2 separate regions of the Homo sapiens genome follow, and region 2 is linked to region 1. Evidence: promoter capture Hi-C in 16 types of primary human blood cells and fetal thymus (Javierre and others, 2016). All regions are on one chromosome and are shown on one strand. The core of a region is centred on a gene start or on the middle of the fragment in contact, and the rest is flanking DNA. Distances in the headings are between cores, read along the strand shown.

The links. The method cuts DNA at HindIII sites, captures the fragments that hold promoters and counts their contacts. A CHiCAGO score of 5 or more calls a contact.
Region 2: a fragment that was not itself captured here is called in contact with the fragment with the promoter of TNFRSF19 in region 1 in 6 of 17 cell types (M2 macrophages, M0 macrophages, fetal thymus and 3 more); the score reaches 7.4 in M2 macrophages.

Annotation. Positions count from the first base shown.
Region 1 is chr13:23,567,333-23,572,670 of GRCh38, forward strand. TNFRSF19 (TNF receptor superfamily member 19) reads left to right here and starts at 3,080. Exons shown (of 10, transcript NM_148957.4): 1 at 3,080-3,516. RefSeq lists enhancers at 491-1,003, 1,004-1,515. The HindIII fragment of the contact is 1,879 bases long and covers 1,210-3,088 here.
Region 2 is chr13:23,826,258-23,830,994 of GRCh38, forward strand. All of the region lies in intron 14 of MIPEP (mitochondrial intermediate peptidase), which reads right to left. Among named protein-coding and RNA genes, the nearest start is that of PCOTH, 60 kb to the right of the region's middle. The HindIII fragment of the contact is 506 bases long and covers 2,167-2,672 here.

The DNA.
Region 1 (5,338 bases), core at 1,830-4,329:
TGCCTAAGCTGTTATTCAAGTACAGGTAGTAAGAGGGATTTGAACATAGGCCTTTCTGACTCCAGCATCCGTGTTCTTTTCATAACCATGAGCTATTTCATTTTCTAAAAAGTGTTCAGTTGAAACAAATGCAGAAATTATTCCTCTCAATGTATGTAATAGATCTGTGTTTATCTGATCTAATCCAGGATATATCCTCTGAACAGAAAAGTTAGAAAAGACGGCATTAGAAAAGACATGCAGACAACTCAAAAAACTATGAAACTTTATGGGGAAAATGTGTTATCACCTGATCTATATCTTAAAATGGTGAGAATTCATGGCATCCACCTGTCAAGATAAAGGAGCAAAGGAACCACGCTCCAAGTTTTGGGAAGAAAATAGCACATGGTGGCGACTGGGGGTGACATGAGACCCCACTCCCCATCAGGAATCTCAGGCAGCCCCTCCCTTCTTGGATATGAACAACTGAAGTTTTCTCAATCATTTATTTTATTTTTTAACTGATTAATAATAATTATACATATCCCTGGGCACCTAGTGACATTTCTATACCTATAAGGTATAGTGATCAGATCAGGGTAACTGGCATGCCCGTCATCTCAAACACTGACCACTTCTTTTAAAGTGTAGCCTGGAGCTCCCCACTGTGGATCCAATGGCTGCCACAACCACTTTGCAGAACCAGGTCGCTGAAAGGCAGCTTGACAAAAAGACTAAGATGAGCCAAGTGTACTGCAACATGGCACAGGAACCATTGATCAAATGCTGTAACTTGGTGTCATGACAACGGACAATGATGTCGAGTGGAGTGCTGGATCTCTTATCACCACTGTATCACACTGATTTAATCACACTAATCTAAGCTTCTTGAAGGGGAAAGAGAAAAGCTTTGTAGTAGCTCCCCTTCCTGGTGCTGTTCAGAAACAACAATGGTGCAGGCCACACCTCACAACGAAGGGGGCTCGGCTGGCTGGGCACAGTGCTAAATGAGCCGCAGGTCAAGAGGTCACTCCTGCAGCCAGGCCGACCTTTAGCCACACTCTGGTCCAGGCGACAGATGGGGCCCTAGCCTCAGTCCCCTTTCATCTCACATATGGGGAGTTCTTGGCCACAAGAGGACCAATTCAAAATAATATCCAGTGACTTGGTGAATAAACTCTTCCACTGGAGATGGTATTGCATTGTTGGATGTATCTTGAACTACAAAGCTTGCTTGGGGAGATTTGTATAAATTGAAGATCATTTGATTGGTTTTCATTCAAGTCCCTGCTTTCAAGTGCCTCCTGTATGTTTTTCAGTGGAACACAAGAACCCGAATTCAGTCCTTCACCTATTTCTACTGGTGTTGAAATCTATAAAGACATAAAATCTACTTGCTTAGCCAATGAGCCTTACAGAGTGTCTAGTTGCTCTGATTTAATATATCAGTGTATCGGGAAACTTTAATCCTGAGTGCAGGCTGTTGGCATATGGATTCCATGCTGGTGGTAGGTTTGGACTACCTCAGAAAAGAAATGGGCACATGCCTTCTTGTAAATATTTTGTCTTTGTAAATATTTTCTTTGTATTCATGGGTTCAAGATGCCCAGGAAACGTATGTGAAGCCCAGATGTCACAGGAATTTTCCTGGTCTGCTTTAAGGAAGTCCTTAAGCATCACACCTGCCAGTTCAAATACTATTTGAGCCCTGTGCATTTTTGAGAAATGATGTATAAGTAGAAAAATTATACAAGAAACATGGAAAAATCAACAGGACTATTTAAATGTTATACAGAACTTATGAACAGTTCAAACTAAATATTTTGCTATTAAAATTATTCAAGAATCATAGAAATCTGGAAATAAACACTTCATAAATAACGTTTTCAAATATCGCGTCAGGAAAAATTAGACAAAACCAGTTAAGGAGGGAAGTTACATTGAAAAAGACTGAGTTCTACTATCCCCTAAGTTTTGCAAAAATATTTTTAACTTACTTTCTAAAAGTTAGTGAGTTTCCATTATAAAATAGAAAAATTGTCTTCATTCCATGAAAGAACTGTCTGAAAATCAGAAAAGCACCATATCCTGGATTTCAAGGAAGATGAAACTTCTTCTTATCTTCTATTTTACTAAATACTCAAAATAAAATAATCATATTGTATTGAATCTGACATTGTTAAGGAAAATAGCTTAAAATTTTTAAATAATGAGCAATATATTTAATTTTAAAATACGAAGAATTAGGCTAAGGTGGTAATTTTTTAGTGAGTTGAAAGTCCAAACTATGAGTTCGGAAGAAACAGCCCTAAAAGGCAAATAACATGGCTTTGGAATAATCACAGGGCAAATGCTTTGTTCTACATAATTCTTCTTTTGTGAATTTTAAAATGCTCAACAAGTATTAATGAAATATGTCTAAGAAGTAGATATTGCTTTAAAATCTAATTTCCAGAGTCCCGAACTAAGGCAAAGATTGAGATTAAGTCTCCGCCCAAAGTCTTAAGTGAGCCAGTGGAAGATGGCAGTTTATTCATGAATTGTTGGTTATCTGCTGCTTAACTACTTAACACAACCCGGTTTGATTGGTAATCAGATCCTAATAATGTATGTTTCAAAGAAAGGGCAGTTTCCTTAAAATCCTTAAAGACTTGTCACTTTGAAAACTGGAATCAAAATGTGAAAATGTTATCGGTCCATCTGGCAGTGTCCTTGGGTGTTTTTTAGAGTGGTCTCATAGTGCTATTTAACTATGCTGAATATTTGACACCCAGTCTCTGTAGGAAATTGTGATTTTTATCAGCGAAGAGGCAATTAAATGCTGTCATTTGGCACGTCCATCCATCAGGGATCTTATCACCCAAGAAGCATCCAGCAGCAGTTGCTGTCCTTTCCAGCTGGCAGACAGATAACAGAAACTGTCCTGTGTGAGGCACAATAGTCTAACATGATTAGAAATCAGCCAAACTCTGGCTTCTCTTGAGCTATACTCCCCCACAGGCTGAATTATAGCTCTCCTACCAGTCCCACGGCGCTGAATGATGTCATGGGATCTGCAGTTCAGCGAGATGAAAGGGATAAAGCAGAACCCGCTGGCACTAGGAAAAGCTTCCAACACACAGTCCACAACACAGCTTGGGAACCAAAAAAGCTACAGATCCAGCCACTCAGCCCAAGCATGGGAGAACTACCAGCATTGCCTCATTGCAAAAAAGAGGAGGAAAACAACGTGATCCATGTTTAACAAAAGAGTCTGTGGACTAGGAGGTGGGAGGGTAACTACCTGCTGAAAGTGAACTTTCTTTGATATCCATGCATATATATAAACTCAGCCCTGCCTTTGATGTTCAGCAACTGATTCACTGATCAGATTACAGGCATTTCATCTCCCTGCTCGTCTGCCTTTGATCTGCATGGTTAATTTTATTTTCCTGGATTTGAAGTTTCGTCTGGGCTTGTGCTGACATACATTTTTGGGAAGGTAGAAGCATTTGGCACAGAAGTGCTGCCAGGAGAAACTAAGTTGCTGAACGGGTAAGTACTGCAAAGAGCTCAGCATGTTGCAGGTACTCTGTTTTAAGCTTTGTTATAGCTTTCACTGCATTTTTCGCATGTGTTCTGAGAAAAGAATGGTTTTAATTAATTTTTTAGAAAGCATTTATACAGCTGAATACTACATGATGCTGAATGTGTGTATCAGAGTAACTATGGAACTTGATGTAATTTTTAGTAGTTTGTACAAGAGGGTTTGCAGTCTGTCATACAAATTTTACTTGGAAATGAGTTGTACAAACAGGACAAAACAGAACAGCGCTCACTTTAGCATGCAACTGGTACTTCAACCCCTGAGATCTGTGAGCTATAATTGCTCTAAGTATTTACAGGTTACCTTATTTAGTAAACAGTCAGTGCAACTTTGCTTGTTGAAAATGCTTTCTTTGTTTTCTTATATAAAAGAGTAAAATGTATCTCTGGCAATACTGTTTCTTTAGTTTATTTATTCTCTCACTTCCAAGATGTAAATCTATCAAATACACTTCCTTATGCAGTTTGTACACTCAAGGGAATCACTGAAAAACCATCAAGTATGATTAAAGACTTTTATGTGTAAAACTGAAGAATTTAAAAACAGTGAGGATAAAGTTGCACTAAGTTTGGCTAAAAATACTCCAGTGATTTTCTATAACCTTTGGAAATAGCATAAGCCTTATTTACAGAAACATTCACAAGGTTAATATTCCTAAATTAACATTTACTTTACATTTATAGTGACAGCTGTTTTAAGTCAAAATTTGCCAACTGTTTATGAAAACTATCTGAGTAATCAACAGTTATTATGTTACATAAAGTATCTTAGTCACATTTTCACTTTAGCTAATGCCCAACATGACAAAACCAAATTATATTGCTGTACCGAATTTGAAAGTTAACTGTTATTTTTTTGTCAGTTCATGATACACACACACTCACGCTCACACACACACACAGTAAAATCTTTACAGTGAAATATAAAAACTAAATACAATGGAAAAGTAACACTGTTACTTTGTTCGCGATGTTTTTTTTTTTAATGTTCTAGTCCTAAATTTATCTGGGCAAAATATTTAATTATTATCACAAGTCTATTTGATGCTAGCTGAACCATAAAGAAACCATAAGTGATAAGACCAGTTATCCTTTAGTCTGAAATTCTGATGAAACAGGAAAGGTCTAATGAGTCTCATTTCATAAGTAATTAATTTTTCACAGCCAATTAATTAAATTACTTTCTACACTTTCCTCTTGATACTAGAAGGGTAATTAGCATTGTTTATTTAATTTTAAAACTTTGCTAGTTGTTAAGTGGAGGTTATTTAAAGCCATGCTAAACTGATTATATTTTTAAAGTGTGTCATTAATAACTTAATCTTAAAGATTTAACTGCTGTTTTTAGTCATGCCAGGAGAGGCATTTGCTTTTTTTTTCTAAGAGTACAACAAATCATGTTCACAATATCCTGCAATATCGGTTTAGTTTGATTTTTTTTTAATTTGTTTGCTTAAAATCTTCCTTTTAATCACAAAAGTGGTATTAATGTTCACATTCAGATAAAGAAAATTAGCCTTTTAAAACAATGACTGGAGATGGTGCCTAAAGAAATAGTGTGTCTGAAACTTGCTCATTTAGTTCAGATTTGGATTTTAAAATTTTTAAAATGACTGTTTATCCTGCTACTAGGATCATTTTAACAAATACAGGCTCTCCTCAGCACAAAACAAAGGGGAGAATTAGCAATTATCTGATTAATTTAGGCTTTGTAGAAAACTAGCTTGGGCAAGTCAAGTCCTTGAAAATCCACTTCAGTGTTTGAATTAAT
Region 2 (4,737 bases), core at 1,170-3,669, 260 kb after region 1:
CTCTAAATTTTTGCTATATCAAAAAATTAGTTATATCAAAGATCTAAACAATACAATTAAAAGGTTGACTTACCAGACTAGTATGAAACCGCAGACCCAACAATTATAAATATACAATCTACTCAAGCACAGATGGAACATTTCTAAAAAACTGATGACACATGAAGCCATAAAATAAATATTAACAAACTGCAAAGAATCAATACCAGATAGACCAATTAATTAGATATCAGAAACAAAAAGATAAATAACTCCCCTGCAAAGGTTTAAAACTTTTAAACTATAGCTCTAAACAAGTCTTTGCTTAAGGAGGAAATTACAATGGAAATTACCAACTTTAAAAATATTTTGTATTAAAATCACAGAATTCAGCTAAAACATTTCATCACATCATTTAATATTTAAAGCATTAAAATTTAAATGCTTATGTTAAATAAAACAGAAACCGAATTAGATAAATGCCTATGAAATCAGAAGAAAAAAACAAGGATGGAGGAAGGAGAGAGTAATAATAAAAGTAGGAAGTAACAAACTGAAACAAACAAAATAGGATAAACAAAGTTTGCATTGGTTCTTTGAAAATACAGTCAGCCCTCCATATCTGAGGGTTGCACATTCATGGATTCAATCAACCATGAGTCAAAAATATTTGGAAAAAAACTGCATCTGTATCGAACATGTACAGACTTTTTTCTTGTCATTATTCCCTAAACAATACAGCATCTATATAGCGTTTACATTGTGTTAGGTATTATAAGTAATCTAGAGATGATTTAAAGTATACAGCAGGATGTACACAGGTTAAATGCAAATACTACACCCTTTCATAAAAGGGACTTGAGCATCCAAGGATTTTGGTAGCCACGTTGGCGGGGAGTAGTGGCCCAGGAACCAATCCTGCTTAGACACTGAGAGATTACAGTGATAAAGTGGACAAAATTCTGCCAAGATTAACAGAGAGAAAAAAATGAGAAAACAGAATTAGAAATTAAAAAGGATACAATTATAGCAGAATTTGAAGGATAAAAGAATGCTATAAGTAACTTTATGTGAATAAGCTGAAGAACTTGGCTCAAATTGATAAATGTCTAGAAAATTTCAAAGTAGCAAAGTTTATCTGAGAAGAAAAGAAAGCCCAAAGAGGCTTATGACTAGTAAGGATTCAGTCATTTAAAAAATCTTCCCACAGAGGAAACAACAGACCCTGAATGGTTTCATAGATGAATTCCGACAGTTTTAAAGAACAAATGATAACAATGTTATAAATAAATGCTTGTAAAGAAAAGAAAAAGAAACACTCACCAACTCATTTTATGAAATAGTATATATTTAAGTGAACACCAGCAAATAATGACAAAGAAAAATCATAAGCAATCCCTCTCTCATAAACATAAATGCAAAAATCAAGAATATAAAAATATTAGTAAACTAGCAAACTATGAGGTGGGTGGATCAACTGGGGTCAGGAGCTCAAGGCCAGCCTGGCCAACATGGTAAAACCCCACCTCTACTAAAATTACAAAAATTAGCCATGTGTGGTGGCACACGCTGTAATCCCAGCTACTCAGGAGGCTGAGGCGGGAGAATCACTTGAACCCAGGAGGTGGAAGTTGCAGTGAGCAGAGACTGCACCACTGCACTCCAGCCTGGGCGATGGAGGGAGACTCTGTCTCAAAAAAATAAATAAATAAAATAATTAGCAAACTAAAGCCAGCTCTGCATTAAAAAATAACTATTATTTAGGACCAAGGTGGCTTAATCCTGAAATGCAAAGGTGGCTAATGTTTAACATTAACATTCACTACATTAACAGATTAAAGGTGAAGAACAATCTGACAGCTCAAAAGATGCAGGAAAAAACTATGATAAAATGCAATACCCATTAATGATTTAAAAAAATAGTAGCAAACTGGAGATAGAAAGGAATTTCCTTTTCCTGATATCTCCAACAAACCTATAACAAACATCTTTCTTTACGGTGACGTATTAAAAACATTTCCTTTAAACACCAGGATCAAGGCAGGAATGCCCATACCACGGCTTTTACTCAACATTAAGGAGGCTCTCATAAGTGGAGTAGAACAAGGTAAACAGAAAAGATACGTGGTTGGAAAGGAAAAATAAAGCTGTCATTATTTTTAGCAGAAGTAATTATCTGGTTAAAAAAGCTTGTAAAAGTCTATAGACAAATTCTGTGAATTAATAAGAAAGTTTAGCAAAGCTGCTGTAAACAAGAGCACTATACAAAAATGGACAAACAGCATTTTTAAACACCAGTAACAAACAATCTGAATATATATACTGCTTATAGTATCAAAAAGGAAGGGCATCCAGGACGAAGCCCAACAAAAGCTGACCAAGGCCCTGGAAGAAAATTTTAAAACTGTATTCAAAGACTTTTGAAAAGACCCAAGAAATGGAGAGATATGCCATATTCATGGATTCAAAGATTCAATATTCAGAGATATCAGTTCTCTCCAAATTGGCCTAGAAATTTAATGTAATCCCAATCAAACTCTTACCAGAATTTTTCAAAAATTAGATAACCTGATTCTAAAATGTATATGAAAGAATACAAAGGTCCAAGAGTAGACAAGAAATTTTGAAGAACAAATCGAGGAAGGCCTATCCTTCCAGATATCAAGGCTTATTATTACTTATTAATAATAGTAAGCTTATTACTATAACTTATTCCAAAGCTCTAGTAATACAGACAGCATGGCTTTGATATTAGGACAGACAGCTTAAACAATGGAATGAAAGAGAATCCCACAAACTGACAATTGCATGTACATGAGTAATGGCACTGAAGAAAGGGTAAATTACTCACTAAATGGTGCTGGGACAGTTTGTTACTCACACGGAAGAAAGTAAAATGGATTCCCGCCTTATGCCAAACCCAGAAAGAATTTCCAACTTGATTAAAAATTGAAAGAGAAAAGAAAGCATTAAAATGTTTAGAAGAAAACTGAAGAGGCTGGGTATGGTGGCTCACGCCTGTAATCCCAAAACTTTGGGAGGCTGAGGTGGGAAGATTGCTTGAGGCCAGGAGTTTGAGACCAGCCTGGGAAACACAGTGAAATCCTGTCTCTATAAAAAATATAAAAATTGGCTGGGCATGGTGGCATGCCTGTAAGCCTGGGCGAAAGAGCAAGACTCTGTCTCAAAAAAAGAAAAAAAATATAAAAACTATTAACTATAAAGACAAGATTGATAAATCCAACAATATTAAAAGGAAAGTGAAAACACAAGCCATAAACTGAGACAAGACATATGCCTAAAAAGGATTATTATTTCAACTACCAAGAATTTCTGAAAATCAGTAAGAAAAAGACAAATTTCCAAGTAGGAAAATGAGCATGAGACAAAAAGACATCTGACAGAAAACAAAAACGAAAAATAAGCCAGGTGTAGTGGCACATGACTGTAGTCCCAGCTACTTGGGTGGCTGAGGCAGGAGGACTGCTTGAACCCAGGAGTTTGAGGGGCCAGCCTGGGCAACCTAGCAAGACCTTATTTCTAAACAAGACAAAACAAAACAGAAAATAAATAAATAAAAAACCTTAAAAGTAATCAGAGAACACTGCTGCTAATTAAGACCTTAAAAGTAATCAGAGAACACTGCTGCTAATTAAGACCACAATAGCATTTCATTTTATAATCACAAAATGGGCAAAATTAAAACTTTTGACAAAATTAAAAGTCAATGAGGATGCTGCACGATAGAAACCATTGCTGAGAGGAGTATAAATTAGCAGAAACATTTTGAAAAACAATTTGGCATTATCTCATAAACTTAAAGACATGCACCCCTTACAAATCCAGCAGTTCCAATCTTATACATGGATATACAGAAGAAAGTATAAAAATGTTCACAGCAGTATCACATGAACTAGCAAAAACCTGGAAGAACCTGTGTGCTCCACGTGTGCTCCATGACAGGAGAATGAGTAAATAAATGATGGAATATTATCTGCAATTGAAATAAATACACTGCAGCTACATGCAACACAGATTAATCTTAGGCATAAAATATATATTTTTTAAATAACAGAAGATTATAAGCAGTAAAATACCATTTTTGTAAAGTTCAAAAAACTGAACACCACACTTCTTAGGAATAAATAATGTGGCCAAAAAATGATAAGAATTGAGCACTATGCTTTCCTCTGGGAGGCAAGCGGGGCAGAGATGGGTTCAGAGAAGAGCATGTGGTAATGTTTTACTTCTCAGGTTGGAGAATGGCTTCATAGCTGTTCTTTCTACAAATACTGTGTTATAACATTAAATATTAAATAAAAGAGAAATTCATTACTTGGAGAGGCATCTCTTTCTGCTCTAATCATTTACAAGAAGAATCTCCTGAACTGAAATGAGCCTCCTTAGAATTCCCTTCCACTATTCCTAGTAATATTGTTTTTTCCTAGAATGACTTTCTTCCTTTACATGGTATCCTTCAAATGGTATATGAAAGACTTGAGTTTCATTTTTCTAGTCTAAAAATGTCTTTTCTTAAACCCCTCCTAATGTGAAGTGGCTTCCAATTTTACAAATAAGCAGCAGCCACCCCTCAGGATGGTTTCTAGTTCATCAGCATCACTGTAAAACAGGCCCTCCAAAATTGATCAAACACACTGGGACTGGCAGCCCAGCTCCAGGCAATATGCTGAGGACAAAGGGATATTGTGGGTAAAGATAAGGATAGTGGCAGTTTCTGTAGGGGTGGAGGAGTTAGTT